7 separate regions of the Homo sapiens genome follow, and regions 1, 2, 4, 5, 6 and 7 are each linked to region 3. Evidence: promoter capture Hi-C in 16 types of primary human blood cells and fetal thymus (Javierre and others, 2016). All regions are on one chromosome and are shown on one strand. Each heading gives the region's core, a stretch centred on a gene start or on the middle of the fragment in contact. The rest is flanking DNA. Distances are from core to core; before and after follow the strand shown.

Region 1 (3,715 bases), core at 719-3,218, 1.2 Mb after region 3:
AAACACAGTAAATAGACATTCTACAAAATACCTGACCAGTACTCTTCAAAAGTATCAAGGCCAACAAAAGCAAGAAATAACTGAGAAACTGCCGTGGCCAAGAGAAGCCAGAGGAGACATGACGACTAAATGTCATTTGGTATGTGAATCGGATCTTAGAACGGAAATATTAAAAGGACATTAGGTTAAAATTAACGAGATATAAATTAAGTATGGGTTTTAGTTAATCATAATGTGTTTATATTGGTTTATTAGCTGTGACTAATGTACCATAATAATAATGTAAGGTGTTAACAATAGGGGAAACAGTGTTGGGTGTATGAGAAATCTCTGTATAATTTTTGTTAACTTCTCCATCTAAAACTAGAATTTAAAACTATGCTAAAATAAAAAGCTTATTAAAAATTAGAGAAGTATCTAATTTATGAATACAGATGTAGAAATTTAAATATTTGCATTTTTAATAAAACAGTGCTTTGAAAGGCTATTTCACCTAAACAAGACAGTTTTATTCTGGTCATCAGAATAGAGGCACAGTGCAGCGCATTAATTATTCCCAGGAGCTTGGTCTTTCTCTTTCCCAGCTCTGCTACCTTGGTCAGGTTTTTAATTAGTAAATCATCTCAGAGTCTGTAAAACTAACACAATAACAACTTCCAGGATTAATGAGATAATGTGAGTAAGCTTCTTAGTACTATTCTGGTACATATTTAACACTAAATCTATGGTAGATTTGTACTATTATTCTATTATTATTTATTATTGTTAAAAATATCACTTTGGGAGGCCGAGGTGGGTGGATCATGAGGTCAGGAGATCGAGACCACCCTGGCTAACACGGTGACATCCAGTCTCTACGAAAAATACAAAAAATTAGCCGGGCATGGTGGTGGGCGCCTGTAGTCCCAGCTACTCAGGAGGCTGAGGCAGGAGAATGGCGTGAACCCGGGAGGCAGAGCTTACAGTGAGCCGAGATCACGCCACTGCACTCCAACCTTGGCAACAGAGCGAGACTCTGTCTCAAAAAAAAAGAAAAAAAGAAAATTGTTCATTTAAAATGTGCTAAAATTGTGTTAAAATCACAAAAGGCTAAACACAGGACAAAGGATCTTCCCCCAGAATAATAGTCATTCAATAAACGTTATATTACTATACATAGCACAGTTATATTTGAGATATCAAAACTTAGTTTATTAACATTTGACCTACTGCACATTATACTAGACACAAAATATGCAACAATGAAATGAGAAATTTTTAACCCACCTAAAATCTGATCATTTATACACTTACAGGTATCATTGAGAAAGAATTAACCCTTATTTAAAAAAAAATCCTTTCAATGATTTTCTAAAAGTCCTTGGCTAATTTCAACATACTTAATAAGAGCTAATTATATTTCTGTTATTATCTCACAGATAACATCTTTGGGAGTTTCAGGAAGAATGGTCTACTTTACATTAAAACTATGCAAGACAGGGAAAGGAATACAGATTAAAAGGAAAATTATAATCATTTTCATATCATAACTGAAACTCTGAAAGCGCTTACATTCCTCCAAACTTTGTTCTAAGAGATTTACATATATTAACTTAATTTGTTTAAGATTGGACTTACATGGTCTTAGAAGAGAAGTACCTGTACAGATCATGTTGCCAAGCTCTCTCATTTTATAGATAAGAAATATTCATCCAAGCTAAGCTAAGTTCTTCAGATCACACAGCTATTTAGCAAAGTCAAGGCTAGGTGAGCTTCCTTATCTGATCTCTACCCAATACATCTCACTTTCACTAATATTAAAATAATATTGTGTCAATTTGATTGGATTGAAGGACACAAAGTATTGTTTCAGGGTCTATATGGGTGTTTCTGGGTGTTGCCAGAAGAGACTGACATTTGAGTCAGTTGACTGGGAGAGGAAGATTCACCCTCAGGAAGACCCACTAACAATGTGGGTGGGCACAATCCAATTGGCCTCCATCTTTCTACCGTGCTGGATGTTTCTTGCCCCAAATGTCAGACTCCAAGTTCTTTGGCTTTTGGACTCTTGGACTTACACCAGTGGTTTGCCAGGGGCTCTTGGGGCCTTTGGTCACAGACTGAAGGCTGCACTGTTGGCTTCCCTACTTTTGAGGTTTGGGACTGAGCTACTACTGGCTTCCTTGCTCCTCAACTTGCAAAAGGCTGATCATGGGAATTCACCTTGTGATAGTGCGAGTCAATTCTCCATATATATGTCATATATACCAATAGCATACTAATAGACATATATGCTATTAGTTCTGTCCCGCTAGAGAACCCTGACTAATACATCTGTCAACTCACTCTCATAAAACGTATCTATAAAATTTTACGTGTTTACTGTTTCTCCCCACAAAAGCAACTAAAACATAGCCCAATGGATATAGGATCTGCGTTATATTATTCACTATCATGTCCTTAGCAGCCACATCATTCTGAATAAGTAGTTTGTGAATACATATTTGTTGGCTGAATGAATTATTTCTCAGTTTTCACCTCTGTCCTTGTGATGGTTTCATACATCCCAAGGAGACTGTCTGTGGTTTACACTTCAGAATGGCACTCAGATATACCTGGAGAATCAAGTCTCTTTGATGGTTAAGAATTGATCAATGCCAGACCAGTCTTCATGAAGCCCAATCTTCCTAGTCCTATAATGAATCACATTAGAAATTACAGGCCTAAAAACTATTCCTTTCCCATTAATAAAATAAAGAATAAATTCTGCAGTTGAACTACGGAAAGTCTCCAATGAGGGGCCTGAGGAAAAAGGAATAGAAAGTAGCATCATCATCAAATCTGAGCAAGGCTTTTATTTATACTAAGTTGATCATCAAGGAACAGCACCAGTTCTCCACATCATTAGATGCAGCCAGAGTCTATCCCAATTCCCTAATTCTTCTAGTCCTCAATGTTTCCCTTTGTGCAGCAATAACAGTGCTTTTTAGAACTTCATTATTCATATGCATTGAAGGTGCTTCCTTAAATCACTACAATACAGTTAGAAAAAAAAAAAAATTGAAATTGACCCCCCCACACACACACATATTGCTGCTGTTTAGAAGACAACTAAAATCTAAATAAATTCAAAGAGATTTAAAATGTCTCACTTCTTGGAAATAGTTGAGAAGAGTTAGAACACAGGCTAGTAAAATGACTTACAAACTCTACTTACTAATAGCATACACACAAGTTCTGGAAAACTACATTCACACAAAGAACTAAGCTTGCTCATTTTGCAATGCTATGCATTTGCTCCTTTACAATTTCTCATAAAAAGTATCCAATTACTTTATTTTTTTTTATCAAGTAAAAATTTTTGTCTCTCTATGATGAAATGTGTAATATATGACATAGAGATCCCTACAGAAGGTTTTAGGAGACATACTCTCCTAAGAAAATGAAGCAAGGGGCTCTGGTCTTTAGTCCATCATTTTTGATGCTGAGATCATCTTTGTCCAAGTCCATGTTGTGCATTCTAAGGCATGGTGGTCTGTTGCTCACAGCCTCCAATCCCTGCTGTATATCTCAGCAAAGAAAAACCACCATGGCTCCCAAGACTTGAGTTTAAGCTCCTCCTCTCAGTGTTGAGGCACACCTTTTCCTCTCTTGAATAATCCAACTCCTCTTCTCTAAAAGCTAGGAAAACAGATGTGTCTTTATATTTTTCTGGAAGACTTAAAGCCTTGGGTTT
Region 2 (4,034 bases), core at 580-3,079, 1.4 Mb after region 3:
TGAGTGCGAAGTGACATCTCAATGTGCATTTTCCTAGTGTTTTTTGATGTTGAGTATCTTTTCATATGTTTGCAAGCAGTTTGTACATTTTATTGGATAAAATGTCTATTCAAGTCCTTTGCCCATTTTTTCAACTGGATGTTAGATTTTTTTGTTGAGTTGTAGTTCTTTATATATTCTAGATACTAACCCAAGCCCATATCACATGTGTGTTTTCTAAATATTTTCTCCCATCCTGTAGGTTGCCATCTTACTCTGTTGACTGTTTCTTTTAATCTACAGAAGTTTTTTAAGTTGCGTGTGGTCCCATCTCTCTATTTTTGCTTTTGTTGTCTGTGCTTTTGGTTTCATGTCCAAGAAATCATTGTCAAATCTCATGTCATGAAGTTTTTCCACTATGTTTTCTTCCAGGAGTTGCATAGTTTCAGGTCTTGTGTTTAGATCTTTAATCCATTTTAATTGTTGTATATGGTATAAAATAATGGTTCAGCTTTATTCTTTTACACATGTATTATCCAGGTTTTCCAGCACTTTTATTGAAGAGACTAACCTCTCCCTATTGGCACCCTTGCCAAAGATCTTTTGACACTCTATGTAAGAGTTTTATTTTAAAACCACATTCAAATTCTATAAAAAGGCAATAAAATTTCTAGAGATAATTGCGACTAAAAAATGGATTAGAAATCCATTTGCATTTATCTTTTGACTTCTACTTTGAGTGGGAAATGTTTGTCAACAACACTGGAAGTGGTTTTAAACAGAAATCTCCCTGAGTTTCGGGACAAGCTGATTATTCAGCACTATTTGACAGTCACCAACTAATTATTTCCATATTGCCAACTCATGACTAATTTAATACAAATATATAAAGACTAAGAATAGAAAACTATTGAATGTGTTTCCTAATCAATGTATTAATCTATCTGCAAATGAGTTTTGTATCATGAATTCAGTGAAAAACTAGGAAAATTTCTTCCTCTTAAATTAAGCCATGATCACTTTCATTAACACATATTAAAATGTTGTTTACTCTTTAATTTTTATACCATGATAATTTTTCTAGCTATTTTAAAATATTGGTCGTTTATGCCCTAAATATCAATTAAATGATTGAAGATCACATTTTGAAAAGCTCTGTTTTGATTTGTAACTATACAACTGCTAAAACAGTGCTATCCAATATAAGTGTAATGCAAGCCTCATGTATAATTTTAACTTTTCCAGTAGCCACATTTTAAAAAGCAGCAGGTGAAATTAATTTTAATAACATTTTATTTAGCCCAATATATCCCATATATTATCATTTCAATATGGAATAAATATTTAAAATAGTAACACATTTTGCATTCTTTTTTTCATTCTAAGTTTTCAAAATCTGGGCTATATTTTACACTTACAGCTCATCCCAGTTTGGAGTAGCCATATGTGACCAGTGGCTATTGTATTGAACCACATGGTCCTGAAAGCTCAAGCTTAGAAATCACATTTTCTGATCAGAACTTTCTGTCCATTCATTCCTTCCAATATTTTTCTCTCATTAACTCTAAATTTAAACTTCATGGAGTCCTTCCTTTATCCTGTGATACTATCCTTCCCAGGATCCATCGATTCCCTCTTGCCTGTGTTATGAAAGCTCTCGGTTTGCTTGCTCTCTAACCAGTAGGCCTCGCTTGCCAGACCCTTCTACAATGTGGGATCAGTTTAAGGACTCACTTTTCTATTTCTTCTCCAGAACCATGAGCACTACTGAAAAAAAAATAGTCTTGCTGATTAGTACCATCTCACATTGCTTCCATTCACGCCCAGGTGAGTCTTCAATGCTCCACTATGTATTCACTTCATTGTATTCATTCCTAGGCACATTCACTTTCCATTCTCTCAGCAGACAGTCCAAACTTATAGCATGCTCCTAATGTCTTCCTTCCCTCTCAACCCTGTGGATAGCATAGATCCGTACTTCATAAAAAAATAGAGTAGAACATGCACGACAGGCATCCTCCTCTTCAAGGCAAATCCCTTCCACCTGAGCTCTTCATCCCATTCCCCACTGAGATCCTCAATGACTGAGTAGAGAACAAGAAGACAGATGCCATTCATGTTAAATATTGATGTAATTACTCAGTGTCTTACGGAAACTTTAAGTTATAGTTCCTATTCTGGTCAAGATATGTGTTAAGCAAAGCTTTCCAGTCCTCAGTTTCTGCATCTTTAAAGTCAGATTGGATGAATTCTGTTGTCTCTTTTAGCTCCAGAGTTTTAAACTCTACAGTCTCAGCATAATATCAAGCAAGCTTTCAAGTGTTGAACAGACACAGAAAAAAGAAAAATGAGTATGTGTAGAACCAGGTGGCCTCTGTTCCTTTCTGGCTCTGAAACTTTAAACAGAGACCAGAACTCCTTCAAGATTCTGTCTCCTCATCTACAAAATTGAAATAATAATAACAACTTCACAGACTTGCTCTGAAAAATTAAAGAAATAGCATCTAGATGGAAAAGCTTCTCCTGAACACTGCCTGTTCCAGAGCAGAGACTCGGTTTCCATCTCTGTTTTAGGCATGGACAGAGGCATTATGGTGGTCATTGCCTGTTTGCACACAGATCTGTTCCTGCCCTTTACCTGCAAACTAAGTTTTCCAGGTTCCCTCACTAACTGGCTTTCTGCCATGTTTGGCCACCAGAGACAATGGTGGAAGACTAAGGGTAGAAGGGGAAGAGAAATAGAGTGTTTCTCCATCTTTTTTCCATTCATCAAGCACCATTTTACATGATTCTAGCTCCCTGCCAGATACCACCTACCTTGATGGTCCTGTGTCGTTTATTACAAGAGAAAATCCTTAGTCCTGGGTTCTGCTAATACCACCTTCTCTCTGTGTCCCTCTGCCCCTAGAAGTAGAGTGATGTCTTGAGATTCTTTCCTCTGTTTGTAATATTTAGCAATTCCTGTTTCCTGGTTGGACCCTGATGAAGACAGTCATGATTAGTCTCAACTATCTTTGAAAAATAGATGAGGATGATAGTCTGAAATTAAGAAATAAAGTCAGAAATCTATTCAGTTGCAATGATATAATCTTATACTTTGTCAAAATCAAGTCTTCATTATATTAATTTCATAGCCTAATGCTTCATTTCAGAGTTTCTTAGAGAAGTTCTGAGTTCATAGAATGAACAAAATTGGAAAATATAAAATTTGGTGAGTCCAAGATACCACAGCTGGGCTTAATCGCAAATTTACAGGGTAGAAGTTGTGTACATTGAGCTACACTGCATCAGACCAACTAGATTTTATGATACAAAGTCCAATTTTTCCACAACATATCATTCTATAGGTAATAACTTACATTGTTTGAAACTCTTCTCCCATTCCTGCAGGCCTTGCTCTGTTGGAATACTAGGTTTCTAATGCTAATCTTAACTACATTCTCCCCTCTTCATGCTGCACTGCAATGGTTTATAATGGATTCACATGTGAAAACTAACATTTTCAAGAAATAAAATTTAAACTTTTCTTGGGCCTATATGCTGAATAGAAAGTCATTTCTTCTACATCACATTATTTCTCAGATACACTCTATCTTTAGCTAATAGGGACTTAGCTTGCCAGGAGTTCAAATCTCCTAAAAATGTCTCATTAACAGGTTTCCCTGACCTTCTAATTGTGTCTACTCACGTGCCCTCCTGGGGCAATGTCAAACATTCAAACATTGCATCTACTTGCTTCTTTCTTGACCAATAATTTGTCTAAGCTTCTGCATAGCTGACAAATAGTTGGCTTTACATTTAGTATCTCACCTAGAGATAGAATTTACAGTATTGTATTTCATTCTAATATTATTCCATACATAACAGCTGTAACCATCCAAATAATTTTCATAATTCTCACAAACATTTATGGAACCTGGCACTTTTCCAAGCACGTTACGTACATTCATTCATTCAATATTCACAACCACACTGAAAGGTAGAAAGCACTGTTTTCTCCATTTTACAGATGAGAAAACTGAAGTACCTAGAGATTAATTAATTTGAAATTTATA
Region 3 (3,700 bases), core at 72-2,571:
CACACAACATGTCAGATCCAAAGAGCACTGGCCTCCGAACATGGAAGTAGGTGGGCAACTGAAGGAAAGGTGAATAGTGAGAACAGGGGAGGGGAGGACAAACGGAAGAAGGGAAGGGCCGGGAGATAAGACATTGACATGTGCAGTGAGCTTAGCTGGGCATGGTGGTGTGAGACTGTAGTCACAACTCCTTGGGAGGCTGAGAGGAGAGGGTCGCTTGAGCCCAGGAGTTCACATCTATCCTGGGCAACATAACGAGACCCTATCTTTTAGAGAGAGAGAGAGAGAGAGACCAGAAGTCCTGGACATAGCCAGGCTGTGGGCAGCCCACGGATGAGGTGAGATGTCAATGTGATCACCCCTGGAAGTGAGAAGGAAGGTACGGTGGGGTTATTGAATACACTGTGTCATTCAATTACTGTCATCGTTTGGATTTTATATGGGATGGGGGCTGGGAATTCCTGGTCTACTTGTGCTGGAGAGATGTTTAGGCTTTCTCAGATGGTTAATAGAGGGCACCAGCAGTTGTTTGGTGGCATTGGAGGAGCAGCTTTTTGTATCCCAAATGACCCTTTTCAGATAAAATTGAAGCTGGATTGAGACTTCGGGAGGATAAGTATAAAGTTGTAAGTGGGTGGGATAGAGAACAGCCATGCGAATGTCAAATCTCCTGTCTTTTCACTCCTGTCTTAGGCCGAATGTGAGGTGCCCCGTTCTTTCCTTTGGTGGAGCCTTTGAAGATTTTTCTTTTCTTTAAAGCTCACTTAGCAGTTAAAGACTTGAGATGGGCTGTAAAGCTGTGAAAAGCCTGGGAGGAAATGGTGTTGACATGAAGGGGTAAAGCCAAGCTTGGAGGGGTGCCAGTGGCAGGGACCCACACTAATTCCTCTTGTTCTTATGCCCTTCTAAATATGTCTCTGAAGCACAGGAGAACATTCCTAGGGAAAAACAACGTCCACTCACCTCATTCCAAGAAAATCTGTAACAACGTCCAATTGTCTTTGAGAGGAAAGAAGATGACATTGGGAGACACAGCATCTAGAGGAAAAGCGAGAACCACTGGTCTTCCTTTCAGACTTCACAGTGGGATCTTGGCGCCTCGGATAAACAAAGGCACTGGCAGGAAGGAAAGCGAAAATCAGAGGAGAGGTCTGGCAGGCCACAGCCAGAGCAGAGGCAGTGGGTGAGAAAACCCTGGGTTTGAGGACCCTGGTTCTCTTCCCTAACAGCCTTTGGGTCCCTCTTTCTGAAACAAGGCTTGAGAGCATGTCCTCTGGCCTGGGGGACTTGGGTGAGTCTGAGGCACCCCAGGTAGCAACGATGGCAGGTTTTGCACTTGAGCTGGGGAGAAAGCCAGTGGTGCTGAAAGCAATGGAGATTGAGGTACAGAGATCTTCCTGCCGAACCCATTCCCAGGCTTTCTGCCTTTCTAGGAATGGAGAGAGAGAGAGAATGCCTTGGCTGGTTTCCTGAAATCCAGTTCATGGAGCCACAGCCCCAGTGAGTGCTCACTCAAGAAACAAAGGCTCAAGAGAGGACAGGCACCAGCTAGGAAACTCCACTCCGAAAGGGATCAGCTGTTGCACTCACAGGCACACTGCTTTGGTCCAGGAAGTCAGTAAAAGGCAAACAGGATCCCAGCGAGGTCATTTGTTTTGGAGAAGACAGAGGGAGGAGGAGGGAGGGGCAGCCGTGTGAACGTGCAGTTATGTCAGGGCCTCCCCAGATCCCTGGAACGTCCTGCCTGAGCACAACAGGGAAAACCTCCCCCTGCTCACTAGCCCTCGGGAAGTACAGTTCTCACTGAATGTCTGTCAGCATAATTAAAAAATGAACACCCTTCCAATCGCAAGATCAACGCCAAGGGTTACCTTCCTGGGGAGCTGTCCAGGGGGAGCATGGTTTCCTAAGAAAACTTTTGTGATCTGTGTAGAATATTTTTGCCCCTATTTTTTTTTTTTTCTTCTGAGACAAGATCTGGCTTTGTTTCTATCAGGACATGTTTGGATGTTCTTCCAGAAAGTCTACTGGTAAGAGAGCTCAGTTGGTCTTCTAGGAGAGATAATTGTTGACATATCAGGGGCCAAAGGCTCATCTCTTCATTCCCTGCACTTGGGGAAGAGGTGGCATCATTTCACCCTTAGAGCACAGGATAAATATTATGATTATTCAAGCAAAAAGACATTCTACTGGCTACTTTTGATTTAGCATTACAGTTTCTAATTTATCCCAAAGATGCACTGACAGAAATGGAAAGATGTATTCACAAGGCCACCTATCACAGCACAATTTGTGTATTAGAAAAAACTCAAATGTCCATCAATAGGGGACCCTCAACTATGGTACATTCACACAATGCAGTAGTACACAGCTGTAAAAAAAAGAAGAAGAATATCTCTACATGCAAGTATGAAAAGATTTCCAAAATATATAGTTGATAAATATTAAGATATAATCGTTAAAACTCAAAACAAAATGAAAAAAGTCAAACCTAACTAGATATTGAGTTGGTGGCACATCCTCTTGGGAGAAAGTATTTCAAGTGACATTAAAACCTGGGAATTGACTGTAGACCTCAAGTGGGATATACCCTTAGAACAAAAGGAACTGCAAAAACACACACACACACACACACACAGACACAAACTTCAAATGTTTCCAGTAATTACATCGTCATGGAAAGTTTTCCTATTATTATTCTGAGACTATTGTATATGTTTCCCAGTATAAAACAAGTGAGTAATATGTAGGTGTTGTTGGGAACCAGAAATTTAGGTTGAAAAGAGATGTAAATTTAAGTGGGGTCAAATAAAAGCCCTATAGTCCTGAATCAGACTTTGAATTGGAAACATTCAATTATAAATATGATGTTTTATCTACATTATCTATCTATCTATCTATCTATCTATCTATCTATCTATCTATCTATCTATCTACAGATCCATTCATTAACCTACCCCTAATCTCCTAGCTTTGTTCCCTGAAAAGGCCTAGAAACAAAGAACAACCTGTTAGCAATGATCATCCCTAACACACAGATAATGCTCCCCTACGAGTCGGGGCTCCTTAGAGAAATACCGAGCTGCAGGTCTTAGTGAAAGATGTGCAAGATGCACCTTTAACACGTGGTCCTACCTGAAAACAAGTATACTGTTGAAGACTACCATGGTTGTGTCACAAAGAGTCAAGAGCCAATTTTCAGGGATTCCCATTTGAATATCGGAAATAATAACTGCAATAAGTTAAAGCACATCAATTAAATGTAAATTTATGGGTTTATAATGAGTTTATAAAAAAAGAAGTTCCCTGGGACATGATATCCGTGTGTCAGTGACAAATCGCAATGATAAGTCCAGAGTAATAGTGTGACCACAGCAATACCAGCAGTAAGGCAGCAGAGCAGGATTCAGGGATTGACACTGGTGTAGCTGTGGCAACAGGAGCCTGAAGGCCTTGAGGAGAATGGGTGCATGATGCTGGGGCCTGGCCAGTGGACAGGAAGGCCGAGAAGGGCACAAGTGGGACTGAGGTCCAGGGAAGACCGATGGAGACTGCAATCTACAGGGAGGTCTCACTATTACATTCACCTCCACGTTGTTGCCTTCCTGGTGCTATGACCCAGGAAATTTTATGTTAGCATTAAGGAAATTGAAGTCTGTCACCCCGAGAATCTCATATTACTGTAGAAAAATCTAAACTC
Region 4 (3,577 bases), core at 941-3,440, 1.2 Mb after region 3:
ATGCTACTCAGCAATAAAAGTAATAAATGATTAACAGATTAAACAAGAAGAATCAATCTCTAATTATGCTGAGTGAGAGAAAACTGTATGATTTTATTTTAGACAATGAAACCTAATCTGTAGAAACAGAAAGTAAATTAGTGGTTGCCTGAAGACATGGAGGAAAGAGAGATGGGTCATAAAGATGTATAAATAGGACTTACGGTCATTGATATGTCCATTTTCTTAATAGTAGTGATAGTTTTATTGGTGTATACATATATAAAAACCTTATCAGGTTGTATACTTCATAGATATGTGGTTTATTGTACTTTAGTTGTATCTCAATGAAGCTGGAAATAAAGTATTTTAAATTTTTTAAAGGTACTATTGAATTTGAAATCCATTTGTGTTTTGAAAAATTTCAACATTACTTTTATCAATAAAAAATGGAGAGTTTTATATTCTTTAAGTGTAATCCCAATTGTAAAATGTTTAATGCTTTAATAAATGATTTTACATTATTTATCACCTCCTGGCCTGAACCGTATGGCTTATCAATCACGGTCTTTTACAATTTTAAGAAAGCAAAATGAAAGTCCTGATTAGGAATTGTATGTAGTCACTTCAGATATAACATCCATTATTTAAAAAGAGAAAGCTGTGATCATGAATGAAAACTGACGGAAAGCTTTAATTTAAAAAATTGCATATAAATTTAGTGTGTAATACCTTCCTAATTATGTGTATGTTACTTTATTAAAATTATTTAATATAAATAAACCATGGCTTTTTTTTTTTTTTTTTACCAAGCCCCAGGTAACCTCTATCCAGCTTACTGTACAAAAATTGTCATTGCACTCTGATACAGTTTGGCTATGTCCCACCCAAATCTCATCTTGAATTGTAGCTCCCATAATCCCCACATGTCATGGGAGAGACCACATGGGAGTTAATTTAATCATGGGGGCGGGTTTTCCTCATGCTATTCTAATGATAGTGAATACAGCTCATGAGATCTGATGGTTTTATAAAGGGTAGTTCCCCTGCACACACTCTCTTGCCTGCCACCATGTAAGACGTGCCTTTGCTCCTCCTTTGCCTTCTGTCATGATTGTGAGGCCTCCCCAGCCATGTGGAACTGTGAGTCCATTAAACCTCTTTTTCTTCATACATTACCCAGTCTCAGTTATTTCTTCATAGCAGTATAAAAATGGACTAATATGAAATGAGCTAATTGTTTTTGGAAAGGTTAATCTTAATGAACTAACAGTGATTTAATAGTTGCAAATGCTAACTTTAAAAAAATAAAATACTGAAATTAGAGGTGTATTGAGTGATACATTTCCATTCCCATTATTAATTTAAAATATCCACAGAAAATGTAACTTAGATTTTGAACTCTGTATTGCATACTTAATTATCAAGAGTTTAAAACTGGGGTAAAATAAAGTGGAACAAAGAAACGTAAAAGAAGGAAAGCACAGGAATAGCTGAGCAACCAGCTCAAGAAGCCACAGCTACTCTGACTCATTCATATACTGGCTCAATATTGAACACATGAGTGTGTACAGAAGATTTTAAAATGTCCCACTGATATTTTCACATATACTTCAAACAGTAATTCACATATAAATTGCCATATATTGTTCATATATTTTAGTCATTAAATCTATTTTACATCTTATCTAAGTCATAATGATTATAGTGAATGTAGGCACAGATGCACATATATTTAGTCATATATACAAGACCGTTTCTCCTTTACAATGGAATTTTAAAATGTTTCAATTCGATAATGATACTATATCCCAAGCACTAAACACCAAGGAGACAAATATGGTATGACATAACTGACCCATAGGCCATCATCAGTTCATTAAAAGACACAATATGTAGGGCCTAAGCTAAGACAGGGAGGGTAAGGGTAGAAAAGAGCAGAGAGAAAGAAGCAAGACTTAAGCGTAGAATTAATAGATCTTGACAACCAAAAGGATGTTCATGGGGGTTATGAGATTGAGGAAGAGAAAGAGAAGATTCAATAACTGTTTGCATCAATTAAAAATAGTGTTTTTTCATAAAGATAGAGATTAAGAGGAAAAAAACAATTTGTGAGAACATATTTAGTTTGGTTATGGGCATGTGAAGTTCTTGGTGTAAGCATTTAATTCCAATCTGTATCTTACGAGGAGAGAGGCCAAGCAGGAAGTATGTTGATTTGGAATTTATTTATATATGTGTTAAATGTGGAAAGTAAAAAGTGAATGGTGTTGCTCATAGTATGAAATTCAGAAGAAAAAAGAAGCAAAGACTGAATTTCTAGAGAAAATCAGTTTTTTGAAAATAGAGAAATAAATGAAAGTCTGATAGAGAACAACCAGAGAAGGCAGAATCAGAGGGAGATAAAGTCCTGAAACATGAGTATGGTTGTTTCAAGTAGAAAGAGTAGGCTTAATTACCAAAAATGTCCAAGACAAGAGAAGAGGCTCCTGAATTAAACTAGTAAGAGGTGACTTATTAAACCTGCATAAGCCATAATTCAAGATAGATAGGATTTGGAGGCAGATCACCACTGGCTATAAAATCAAACTAGAAAGCCTTTGCCAGGATCTGTAGTAGACTTAAAAATTGTTTAATTTGCATCTTACCTCCCTTCTGAGTTTTGGGGGAGTCTCCATTATGTGTAGTGTTGGCAAGAGAAATTGCCCCACTTTTGTTACAGAGGCAACCAGAGTACAGGACATGTGATGAAGTCTTAGCTAATCATATACTCCCACCTAAGACTTTATATCTGGAGAGAATAAGCCAAAGACAAAGTGAAAGTTGTAATTCATTTGTAATAGTCCCACAACAGTGGAGACATCATCCTAGCTAGCCATGTTTCTCCTGGTGAAGATGGTTGCTGTATTTCTTATATCTCAATCTGAAACTGTCTTCTTAACGTATGCCTATTTTCAAACCTGTAGTCCAAGGTGCTGTTACGTCTACAAGCCCTGGAGAGTCTTTTAATAAGTCTAATTAGTTTTCATGTGCTAGGTGCAGTTAGAGTTTGCTGTATACAAACAGTAACCCTCACTAAAACAGCCTCAAAAAGTTTACACGAGAATATTTAGCTGTGTCTTTTCAAAATAAGTTTTTATTCTAGTTCCATATATTTGGTTTGCCTTTTAAACATCATGCTAGTCTTAGTCTTCTGAGATCCTCTCTATGTCTATAAAAAGTGCTTAGGGTATTCACAGAACTGAGCAGTGCTTTAGGATATTTCCCTTTACTTTCAGCTAAGATATATATTATATATATGATATAATATATATATATCTTATATAGATAGACATCGATAGGAGTAGTGTGTGTGGGTATGTGTGCGTGTGTGTGTATCTTTTAGTGGTTATTGTGGTGAAGTATTCCTTGATTCAATGTATATATTAAATTGAATGTTATTGTCCCCTACTATTATTTATTCTCCCCTTCCTCTTTTTATTAACAGAACTTCCCACATACACCCCTTTTGGCTGAGCTGTATGGCCATAAGCGTAGAGACTTGCAGCTGTATGTGGCCGTGAATGAGAGGTATGATCCACAGTCATGTGCACAGCTT
Region 5 (3,790 bases), core at 1,264-3,763, 1.6 Mb after region 3:
TATGTATATATACACGTATATATGTATATATACACGTATATATTTATATATACACGTATATATGTATATATACACGTATATGTATATATGTATATATGTATGTGTATGTATATATGTATATATATGTATGTGTATATATATGTATATATATGTTACCACTGTGCTCAAGTAGCAGGCACCCAATAAATGTTTGTTTCCTGCCTAGTCTCCAAGACAACACAGCTTAAGAGGTTACTAATTTAGACATTATAACTAGGATTGTGACAATAGATGAGTCCACAGATGCAACAAATGTAAAAATAACAACAATGACAACAACAAAATTAGAGGTCCTAGAAGTAAGATTCAAGGAGCATTCACAGTTAGTGGATGAGAGAATGTAACAAGGGCAATTAAGGAGCAGGGGAGAGTCAGTTTCCTCTGACTCTCCGAAAACTGTACAATTACCTTCTAAAGCATCAGGTTTAAACCTCCATATTCACTGTTAAGGGGGTGAACAGTAAAATTAATCGAGAAAGCCGAGTTATTCTGCCAAGGAGACCCATTTGAAAGTGAAATAGAGGTCAAAACCCTACTCTAACATGGAAATTGGAAACCGCCAGATTTTTCAATGCTCTGATATAGTTCAAAAAGGGCAGAATTGATGGATTATTAACTATGCCAACTGGCATCGTGGAATTTATGTTTTCTTTGTTATGTAAAATGTACAATCATAACAGAAACATCAAAAACCTGAGAAGGTTCAAGGAAGGGCATAAAACAAATGTAATTCAAATTTTACTGTAATAAATAAAACTAACAGCAGAGGGCTCCCCTCAACGCCTGGCAAATTCTCAAAGCAGAGAAACTACAAATGGGGCACGTTTCTGGTAACCTCTGGTTCCATTCGAAATTTTCTATACATAAGAGAAAAAAAAAACAACTATCCATTAGTAAATAAATTACAAATACAATATTTAGACCTGCAGGTGCTAAAATTCCTTTTTCTCTTTAATTTTGTTTTCCTCACTGTGCTTTTTGCTAATCAGAAACTATTGAAGTTATTAATGCAATAATTCAGAAGGTTCTGGATGTAAAATGCCCAAAGACAGTAGAGGGATTTCTATAGCCTCTCTAAAGTATTTCAGATTATCCACCTGATTACATAAACAACATTTCCAGAAAATTGCCATTTTTTTAACCTATAATCCTGGTATCCAAATGTAGACATTACAAACGCAAGGGAGCTGTACTCAACAGCTAGGAATCTTTAATAATTTGAGGCCTTGAGGAGAACTGACATCTGGTGAAACACCAAAATGGTTTCAAAATAAATCAAAATACTATTTATACTTTTAAAAGATATTTTGAAAGTATTTTGAGTTATTTACAGAAAACAGTACTCTATATAGTAGACTCTGTGTAGGTCATCCATGTTTTCAACCAGCTATTTTTTTATTTATTATGGAAATATGAGTTAAAGTAGCCTTTGCCTCAAAGTGTTGTCATTCATTTTGCACTTTGTCCATAGAAAATGCAATGATTTTTTTCAAAGGCCAGTTTTGTTGTAGGTCAATCAAGCACTCATTTGAATGCTGATTTATTTTTATGGAGATGCATATTTTTGATGGCTTCTTTGGATTCATCACAAGGTATATCACTAACTACACTAGGAGTCAGCAAATTATAACATAGTGGGGGCCAAACCCAGCCACTGCCTGTTTTTGTACGGCCTGAAAGCTGAGAATTATTTTTACATTTTTAAATGACTGCAAAAATCAAAAGAATTCTAACATTTTATAACACATAAAATTATATAAAATTCCAAGTTCAGTATTCATAAAGTTTCAAATTTCATCAATAAAAATTTTGTGGAAATCTGTTTTCTTCTCCTATTATGTAAGTACTTACATGATACTCTCAATTTTGCCTCTTGGCCCACAAAGCTTAATTTTTTTTTTTTCCATTTGACTTAATACAGAAAAAGTTTGCCAAACTCCGAACTATGCAAAATGCCAAAACCATTATTCAATGCTCCTTGGGTTATTTAAAATAATGCAAGATTTGCCCCTTTAACACTATAACCTAATCATCTGCAGCACTGGTTCCCAAAATAATCTGTACTTTGGAATTACTGGGTAGCTTCAAAAATTATTGATGTTTGTGTCCTTGCCTGAGATTGTGACTTAATTGGCCTGGGGAATAACCTGAACTTTTAAAAGATCCCCAAGTGATTCTACTGTGAAGTTTGGAAACCACTGATTTAGTGCTTTGGCAAGTTCAATCCTCCCAGCTTTATCTGGGCGCTCCCTTCTACTGGCAGCCCTTTTTGCTCTTCCTCCAGCACATGGCCCTCTGCAGCTAGCCCCAATTCCCCCAGATCACTTAGGCCTTTCATTCCCACCACCAGAGCTAAGTGACCTTCTCACCAACTCCACTGAGAAGATCAAGGCCAACCCATCCCCAAGTTTTCTTGTTTTACTTCCTGAATGAAATTCTTCCCTCAAGTCCATTCTCTCCTCTCCAGTCCTTCTAGAGGGAATACACCATAGTGGCTAAAAAGGAGTCTTCAATCAGGCAGACATGAATTTAAATCCCTATTCCCATAATCCCAGCACTTCGAGAGGTCAAGGCAGATGAATTGCTTGAACCCAGGAGTTCAAGACCATCCTGGGCAACACGGGGAGACCCCATCTTTACAAAAAATTAAAAATAAAAAAATTAGCCAGGCATGGTGGCATGGTGGTGCCCACTCATAGTCCCAATTACTCAGGAGGGCAGATAGCTTGAGCCCAGGATCATACCACTGTATTGCAGCCTGGGTAAGAGAGCAAGAACTTGTCTCTAAAAAATTGCAATAATAACAATAATAATAATAATAACCCTATAGGGATTTTTGTGAAAATTAAATGCTACTCACAGTGTATTAAATTAAATGTTACTTACTGCTACTTACAGTGTTGTCCTTGGACTAACATCTTCAGCATCACCTGGGCACTTGCTAGAAATTCAGAATCTCAGGTCTCACTCAGACCTTCTGAATCAGAATCTTCATTTTAATGAGATCCAATAGTGATTTGTGTGCACATGAAGGTTTGAGATTCGTGGTGCTAGGAAGCTTTTTATTTCTCTTCACAGTCCACATCCAGGCTGTTTCATCCTAGCCCTTCGACAGTTCCCAATACACATGATATTGATGATGCCCTAGAGTGTGGCTTTTACGTAGAAAAGGAGATTTGCTTGAGTTTAAAAAAAAATTAATGTCAGCTATGTATAGGACAACTTGAAATGAGAAGAGACTGGGGTGGGATCGAGGTGGTTAGGAAATACAGTGTCACCTTCGTGCAACTTAGGAAAAGACACTCCCTCTGAGCCTACAGGACCCCATGCACACCTGGTGAACTAAGACAGCCCTTGGGCAATTGAGAAAATGGTGCCCCTCTGGGTTGACACCACCCTGTTTCAGAGCAGGTGGCTTGCCAAATGCAGCAGGGCCTCAGCCAGTTGTCCTCAGGCAGTGTGTGGCAACCATGCAGAAGGAGGATTGGATGGGATCCTGAACTAGGGCGTGGAAGATTGGAATGAAAAGCAAGGATGGATTCTAGAAAATGCTGAAATGGTGGAGGGCAATGGGGGAAAGACAGGGAGGAATGTGGACCTGGGGTTATTAAGGAAGACTTCTGGGAAGAGGCAAGATTTGACACAAATTCCAAGAGTTTGTAAAATTGAGGTGTAGGATCAAATATTCAAGATGCTATGAACAGGATGAGGTTATGAGAGTGAAGACATTTAGAGAACGTCAGCGGTAAAG
Region 6 (3,611 bases), core at 80-2,579, 1.6 Mb after region 3:
CGATTCTTCCTTTTAATGACCATGGAATGTTTCTCCATTTGTTTGTGTCATCTCTGATTTCTTTGAACAGTGGTTTATAGTTCTTGTAGAGATCTTTCACCTCCCTTAGTTAGCTACATTCCTAGGTATTTTATTCTTTTTGTGGCAATTGTGAATGGGAGTTCATTCCTGATTTGGCTGTCAGCTTGACTCCTGTTGGCATATAAGAATGCTAGTGATTTTTGTACATTTATTTTGTATCCTGAAATTTTGCCCAGTGTTAGGGAAGGGCAATGAGTCCCCTGAAATAAAGTTGTAGAGATCAAAAGAGAATAAAGAGAGGAAAATGGCTATCTCCCTACTCCCAGTGAAGTTGGAAAGAGAAGGGAAATGACAATTCTGGGTCTCTCTAGAAAGGAAGTCAAAGGCAGATTCCAGAACATGCTCAGACCCCAGCCCTTTTGGGGCAGTTGTAATCTCAGAAGTGGCTGACTCAGTAAATCAGAAAAAATACAACCCTAAGAGACCTGAATATTTTGAAAAGGAGCCATCATGAGTGTATAAGGATGACATATTGGAAATCACAGTCTGGGACCATGTAGCTGTGGTGGAGGAAGAGGGGTACCAACTTCAGACTGTATGTGAGAGACGGACCAAACAGCATAAACATGAACACATCCAATGCTTTATAAATTTATTTGCAAGAAAATAAATTCTACAAATAAAAAATCCAAAAGCAACCTTGAAAACAATTTTTGATGAATATGTGTTAGTTAACATGGTTGATAAGAATTCTTATAAATCACAATAGTCCAATTATTGAGATGGGTAAATGACACTTCCCATAAGAATATGAATCACCATTAACAATGCATTTTGGTCAAAGTTCTTTGTCTTTCAAGAAAACTTATGTGGCTGTGTTTCAAAGAAAATAAAAATGAAAAACTTAGTTCTTCCCCAATATCAGTTTGTCTCTCTGAAATTTCATGCTGTATCAACAAAATAACTCACACTGGCTGTTGAATTTTTCTTCCTCCTCAGACATTATCAGGAATTACACAAAACAGCTTGAAATAATGAAAAAGATATTGTCTATCCACAAAACCTAATATCTAGCTTACTTACAATCTAAGATTTCTCTATTTGTTATTTACTATAAGACAAAGGCATAGTATTGTCTCTAATTACCACAGCTGTTTGACTGAGATACAATTATCCGCATCTACAGACTAGAAAACTGAAGCTTACAGTACTTAATAACATCCCTAAAGACCCCAGTTACCTAGCTACAAATTCCACAAAATTTACCCCAAAAATCCGAAAATTGTTTTGCTACAAAGTCTACAAAATCTACTTTAAAAATTTACCAAGTCTTTGCACTATAGCACATTATCTCTTCCTCAATCATGCTGACCTTTCTCAGGCCAAAATTCTCTTTCACCTCTCAGAAAGCTTCTAGGAAGGGCTGACTTTCTCATGGGCAGATGGTCAGGACGTTGCCACTCTCCCCTTCTCCCAAGAGCTCAAGACAGAAGAATGGACACAAAAGCTCCAAAGAGAAGAAACCATCATGTGTATAGATGAGGACATTATTGTCAACATCAAAAAACTGGATTTCTTCTAAGTCAGCATCCAGGAAAATTCCCACACGGCGAAGGCGAGGGCTTGCAGGAATTCTCTCCAGGTGGGTGTTAGCATGGATTGCTCCTGCCTTCATGCTGATCCAGAAGCCATGCTCAGGGAATAAATCATTGCTCTTTCTGTCAGCCGGCTCCTTGCAGACGCCCAGGGACCATGACTTCACCTCTCCCACTTCAACCTCCCAGTAATGTTGGCCGGAGGAGAAGCAGGGAGTACCCAGGACACAGGCCAGCCTGGGATCTTTTGTCAGATCGTGGTGGATCTTCTTACACTGAGCGCTTCTTAGATCATTGGAGAAGACAAGGAGGGAGCTGGCAGTGGCTGCATCCAGGGTCACATCCTCCCGAAAATGCCGGAGCTCCTCCCTCACGTGCAGACTTTGCTCAAGTCGGCTATTGTGCTGCTTGGTCATAAGTGTTAGGACGCTCACTTGCCATTCTTCCAAAGCAGGTACCTTCACCACGTCTCGACACAAGGGGCACATCGCTCTAAAATCATGGTTTTCTAGTATATACCTCTGGATGCAATCAAAGCAGAACACGTGTGTACAAGAGAGAGAAATGGAACAGGAGAAAAAATCCAGGCAAACTGGACAGGACAACTCTGCTTGCAGGCGTTTGGCCATGGTTCTTAAGGGTTACTCCTTAGCCGTGAAGTAAACTGAAGTGATCCTTTATTGGCTTCTGGAAGCACTTGGGAGCCCTCAGTACACAATCCACTCTTCAATAGTCTAAATCCAAGATTAAATAATATAAATTAATAAATAAGTTATTGGCATACATAAATGAATTATATTATTTAATAAATAATAATAAATTTATTAACTAAGAAATTAAGAATAACAAAAAAATAATATTTCTGCAGTTTGTGTATGAAAGTGACACTAAATTGCTAGAGAATCACAGTAATGTAGTCATGGTGATAAAAATGATTTCGAAACTCTTCAAACTCTAGATAATCACAAGACAGAAATAGGACAGTGGAAACTTTCTTTTCAGACAGTGCAGCTTACCTAGTCTGAAGACTTCCAGGTGATGTGTTGGCTGCTCCGGCCAAAGTTTCTCCTAATGGGGGCTGAATTCAAGTGGGTCTTTAACAGAATCTCAGTATAGTCTCCACTCAGTATTTCTTTGTAGATCCTCTGCAGTTCAGGAAAAAGAATGTTCATGTCTAAATTCAATAATGAAAATAAAGCCAATTCTACATTAATCATCACAGAAAAGTGACTCTAAGGAATCCTCAGAATTTCCAGGAAAATTACCACATGTGAGTAAAGCCAGCAAAATCCACTGCAAAATGAGAAGCCCATAAAAGAATCAAGTTTAAGGACAAAGTGTTATTAGATGAAATGCTTTAAAGCACTCTAAGAAAACTAATTAAGGCTTGAATTAATGTGAATAAAAATATAATAGTCATCAACTTCTCCAAAATAATCATGCCTGAATACAAACCAAAAAGATGTTCCAGACAAGGAAGATGCCCTCCTGTTACCCCAACTGCTCCCAAAGCTTGAGAGCCTCTGGTGCTCCCAGAGGACTTCCCACCATGGCTATTATTCTTTGAGTGAGCTGTCTCTGACATGCTGGGCACAGCATATTGGACCAGGCTAGACCCATGACCCAAAGACAGCCTCGCAAAGCTGGACAGCACCTTTGAGATTATGTGAACAGAGGACTGTTCTCCAATAAGAGCCTGCACTGAGCAGTAACTAGCAGAACTCCTTACCAAGAACCCACAAATCACACATTCAGTGGTGACAGTAGTAACAGAATGAGGGACAGAAAGAGGAGCAGCATCAACATTACCAGAGAGAGGAAGTGATGAACACCGATGAGGCCAGCCTAAGACTGAGTTACTAGAACTGTCCTACATCCCAGAACACATTCTCTAATCTCTTTCCAACAAATACTTATTGAGCCCCTTCTGTGCTCTTGGCCTCAACTGGACTCTGGAAACACAAACGTGTGTAATAAACAGGGTATCTGCCCACA
Region 7 (3,795 bases), core at 585-3,084, 1.1 Mb after region 3:
ATTATAACTGTAACCGTTTTCACGTTTCATTTTAATACATTTAAAATTTTATGTATTCATTTAAAATTATATCTATGTATAGGTATATACATACACACATACATATTTCATTTGAAATTACATGCACACTTTTTGTTTAGGTGGTTTATGTGTATTTTTACTGAGTCTATAGTTATCAAATTCTCAAAAAAGCTGTGCCCTCATGAAAGTTTAAAAGCGTGAATTTTTAAAAAGTTTCTATCAGGAGTCACTAGCATACAATATAAATGCATAAACCCCATCAGAGCCAAAAAAAACTATCTGGTAATGTTCTTGAGTGGAAGCTTGATTACTAGAAATAAAAGTTGCTTCCAGCTTCTGGGATAGAGAAGATATTAAATGTAGTGGCCTTTATCAAGACAGAAAGGGGTGGGGAGGAGAAGGTTCGGACAGGGACAGAAGGATTGGTACAAAGAATCAGGAGTTGTGATTTAAACATTCTACGTTTGAAAGGGCTTTATGCTTCTAAGCAGAGATCCTGACTAAGTGGTTTCATGTAAGAATCTGGAGCTCAAGGGAGGTTACAATTCTGGAGAGTAAATTTGAGGATTATCATTTTATGTATGATATTTAAAGCCAAGACACTAGAAATGAAACTGGGAAGAGCATTTAAATAAAAAACAGAAGGCAGCTCATAACCAAGTCGTTCCAATATCTGAAGCTTGGAAATACGCGGCAAAATTACCAAAGGACAGTGAAAAGGAGTGGATATAAAGGTCAGATAAAAATCAGGAAATATTGGTATTTCAAAAGCCAAGAGAAGAAAGTGTTTCAAGGAGAGAGCTCAACTGTGGGAAATGCAGCTGAAGGAACAAGTAAGATGAAAGAAAAAAGTGACAATTGGCAAAGTGGAGCTGAGAGAGAGCCGTTTTGTCAGAGTGACTGGGAACAAGCCTCACTGAAGTGGACTGAGGAGAAGCAGACAGGAGGTGGAGGTAGTGACGTTAAGCAAGCATATAAATAATTATAACATTCATGTTACCAGTATTATTTAATGAAAATCCAAATCCTCTTTCATTAAAAATTTAAAAATTTTTTAGTAGGAAAGTCTCAATTGGAACACTGGTGTGTGCATGTGTGCATGTGCCTGTGGTGTGTGTGCATGCATGCATGCCTCTGTGGGGTGTGTGTGTGTGTGTGTGTGTGTGTGTGTGTGTGTGTGTAATTCTCCTTTGGCTCACTTGCTATCCCTGTCTGGGGTCTCTGAAACCACCACACGTCCATGAGTCACCAGGAGGACCCAAAGGACTCAGGACTTAGCATGTAGTCATACTTATGGCTATGACTGATTACAGTGAAAAGATGCAAAGTATTATCAACAAAGGAAAAAGGCACATGGGGCCAAGTCTGGAGGAGACCAGGCACAAGTTTCCAATAGTTCTCTCCCAATGGAGTCAGACAGGACATGCTTAATTCCTCCATCATCAAATTGTGACAACCCATATGAAATATTGCTGATTAGGGAAGCTATTAGAGACTCAGTGTCCAAAGTTTTTATTGGGGGCTGATCACATAGACATCCACTTCTTAGCACATACCAAAATCCCAGACTTGCAGAAGAAAAGTAGGTGTTTGACACAAATCACATGTTTGTAAAAAACTATTTAGGCATGGAGAACCCCTCTTATCAATTACAGAACGGTAGGAATTGTCCCAAAAATATACAATCCTAAAATCAGCCAACAGTCAACCCTACTTTCTAATGATAGCAATCTCAGGCCTGCTATGTTTTTTTTGTTGTTGTTTTGTTTTTTTCTTTTTTTTTTTTTTGAGACGGAGTCTCGCTCTGTCACCCAGGCTGGAGTGCAGTGGCGCAATCTTGGCTCACTGCAAGCTCCACCTCCCAGGTTCACACCATTCTCCTGCCTCAGCCTCCCAAGTAACTGGGACTACAGGCGCCTGCCACCATGCCCAGCTAATTTTTTGTACTTTTAGTAGAGGGGGGTTTCACTGTGTTAGCCAGGATGGTCTTGATCTCCTGACCTTGCGATCCACCCGCCTCAGCCTCCCAAAGTGCTGGGATTACAGGCATGAGCCACCACGCCCGGCCAGGCCTGCTATGTTAACTCTTTTCTGTACATCATCCAAAGTTGGTTGCATCTTCTCTGTGTCTAACATGATTTTAGCAGTTTTCTGAATTCAGTGCACACCCATCAGAAAGGCTTAACAAGGAGAAAGGTAATGAGTGAGCGAACATTATGTGGTTTCAGCCAGTTTATCCATGAAGTCTGACAGTCAAGCAGACTCATCCACCCACTCGAGGGGCAGAGCAATGGCTTTGGCTTTCAAAAGAACTGTTAAGGGCATAAGGAGACCAGAACTTAAAATAAATAGAATATCAAATGATAACATTATTATGTAATAGTGCTTAACAAGCCATTCTAGCTCCTACCTTTTATCTGCCATTCAAATTATTATATCTAGATACTAGTATTTCCCAATTGTTGGAAACAATGCCAGACAACACCCAGAAGATGGAAGGTCAAAAGAAAAAAGGTTGAGGTGTCAGTCACACAAAGAGACCTACCCTGTTCAAGACCAACTCTGGTTTCTGGTAGTCTATTCTAGGTATCTGTCGCTGCATAAGAAAAGATCCTACAACCCAGTGGCTTAAAGCAATAACTATTTTACCTTAGAATTCGTGTGCATTAGAACTTTGAGCAGGAGTTAGCTGAGTGATTCCTGTGTTGTTTATGAGTATCCCTTTGTAGTTTTCAACTTGTTTAGGTATGGTCTGGAGGGAACAAGATGTCTTTACTCATATGACTAGCATCTTGATGGTGATGGCTCAAACACCAAACTCAGCTAAGAATATTAACCAGGGCACCTTAACATGACCTCCTTAAGTGGTTGGTCTCAGGGTACTTGGACTTCTTACATGCAGGTCCAGACTCCCAGAGAGAACTTCCAAGACCAAGGTGGAAGCTTCAAGGCTTTTTCTAACATAGCCACAGAAGTTCCAGAACATTATTATTGCTATATTCTATCAGTCAAAGAACTCATTAAAGCCAGCTAAGATTCAAGGAAGGGGCAATTAGACTTTACTTCTTGATGGGAAGAGCAGCAAGCAATTTGTAGCCATGTTTAGTCTACCACATTTACTATTTCCAAATTTCTCCTCTATTATTGTGAACCATCGTTGTCTCTTGCCATGCTTTTATTCTCATTTCATTCATTAAAAGGCAGGGCACTATTTTTCAAAAGAAGGATAACTCCACTTCTCTAAGAAGTTGCTAGAAGACTATATTAATTAGTTTTTCCTTCACACCCATAAAGCACTGTTTATTTTGAAAAGCAAAGGACCTCCAGGAACTTCTCTTGGATCTATATATGTGAAATAATAATAAATTTATCTGATATGTAAATATGATGTAAGACGTATCTGGGTCTGTTCTCTAAATAGAATGGAGAATTATTTTTTCCCATAATAGCCTAGGGTTTAATTTAGTATAGGGTAACATGATAGGACAGGGAAAAACAAAATTCCTATAAGGGAAATGACATTAGCAAAAATATTTGAGGAAGGTGTTTAAAGTGATTCAAAATGTGAAAGTGAATTCAGCAGTCATAATAAATGACTATGTACAACCACAAAGCCATTAGAGGCTAGTTGGATTTTTTGTTTTAGGACTGGGATACCATGAACTAATTTGTATACATATATTAAATATCTTTTACATATTAAAAGTCACAATTTTCTTCTTCCTACTATTAATAATTATCCTGTTAAACTATTCACAAGATAAAATGATAACT

Evidence for each region. Contacts are between HindIII fragments. The CHiCAGO score rates a contact against its expected background, and 5 or more counts as called.
Region 1: a fragment that was not itself captured here is called in contact with the fragment with the promoter of LINC02880 in region 3 in 9 of 17 cell types (neutrophils, M1 macrophages, fetal thymus and 6 more); the score reaches 9.5 in neutrophils.
Region 2: a contact is called between a fragment that was not itself captured here and the fragment with the promoter of LINC02880 in region 3, in 2 of 17 cell types (erythroblasts and megakaryocytes). The highest score is 5.8, in erythroblasts.
Region 4: a contact is called between a fragment that was not itself captured here and the fragment with the promoter of LINC02880 in region 3, in 5 of 17 cell types (neutrophils, megakaryocytes, fetal thymus and 2 more). The highest score is 9.6, in neutrophils.
Region 5: a fragment that was not itself captured here is called in contact with the fragment with the promoter of LINC02880 in region 3 in 7 of 17 cell types (total B cells, megakaryocytes, naive B cells and 4 more); the score reaches 10.0 in total B cells.
Region 6: a fragment that was not itself captured here is called in contact with the fragment with the promoter of LINC02880 in region 3 in 1 of 17 cell types (total B cells); the score reaches 5.1 in total B cells.
Region 7: a contact is called between a fragment that was not itself captured here and the fragment with the promoter of LINC02880 in region 3, in 11 of 17 cell types (naive B cells, M2 macrophages, total B cells and 8 more). The highest score is 19.7, in naive B cells.

Annotation. Positions count from the first base shown.
Region 1 is chr6:112,748,538-112,752,252 of GRCh38, reverse strand. The region is part of intron 5 of LOC105377949 (a long non-coding RNA gene); the gene reads right to left. The region is part of intron 2 of LOC107986634 (a long non-coding RNA gene); the gene reads left to right. Among named protein-coding and RNA genes, the nearest start is that of RFPL4B, 400 kb to the right of the region's middle. The HindIII fragment of the contact is 2,563 bases long and covers 687-3,249 here.
Region 2 is chr6:112,493,120-112,497,153 of GRCh38, reverse strand. No RefSeq gene overlaps it. Among named protein-coding and RNA genes, the nearest start is that of RFPL4B, 150 kb to the right of the region's middle. The HindIII fragment of the contact is 710 bases long and covers 1,475-2,184 here.
Region 3 is chr6:113,902,008-113,905,707 of GRCh38, reverse strand. LINC02880 (long intergenic non-protein coding RNA 2880) reads right to left here and starts at 1,321. Exons shown (of 4, transcript NR_027060.1): 1 at 964-1,321. The HindIII fragment of the contact is 3,143 bases long and covers 851-3,700 here.
Region 4 is chr6:112,731,825-112,735,401 of GRCh38, reverse strand. The region is part of intron 2 of LOC105377949 (a long non-coding RNA gene); the gene reads right to left. It overlaps LOC107986634 (a long non-coding RNA gene), which reads left to right. Exons shown (of 6, transcript XR_001744303.1): 3 at 3,467-3,549. Among named protein-coding and RNA genes, the nearest start is that of RFPL4B, 390 kb to the right of the region's middle. The HindIII fragment of the contact is 3,035 bases long and covers 673-3,577 here.
Region 5 is chr6:112,309,169-112,312,958 of GRCh38, reverse strand. No RefSeq gene overlaps it. Among named protein-coding and RNA genes, the nearest start is that of RFPL4B, 36 kb to the left of the region's middle. The HindIII fragment of the contact is 1,172 bases long and covers 1,928-3,099 here.
Region 6 is chr6:112,348,343-112,351,953 of GRCh38, reverse strand. RFPL4B (ret finger protein like 4B) reads right to left here. Exons shown (of 3, transcript NM_001013734.3): 2 at 2,633-2,761; 3 at 660-2,350. The coding sequence starts at 2,245. The coding sequence ends at 1,454. Among named protein-coding and RNA genes, the nearest start is that of RFPL4B, 2.8 kb to the right of the region's middle. The HindIII fragment of the contact is 209 bases long and covers 1,225-1,433 here.
Region 7 is chr6:112,765,416-112,769,210 of GRCh38, reverse strand. The region is part of intron 5 of LOC105377949 (a long non-coding RNA gene); the gene reads right to left. The region is part of intron 2 of LOC107986634 (a long non-coding RNA gene); the gene reads left to right. Among named protein-coding and RNA genes, the nearest start is that of RFPL4B, 420 kb to the right of the region's middle. The HindIII fragment of the contact is 2,264 bases long and covers 703-2,966 here.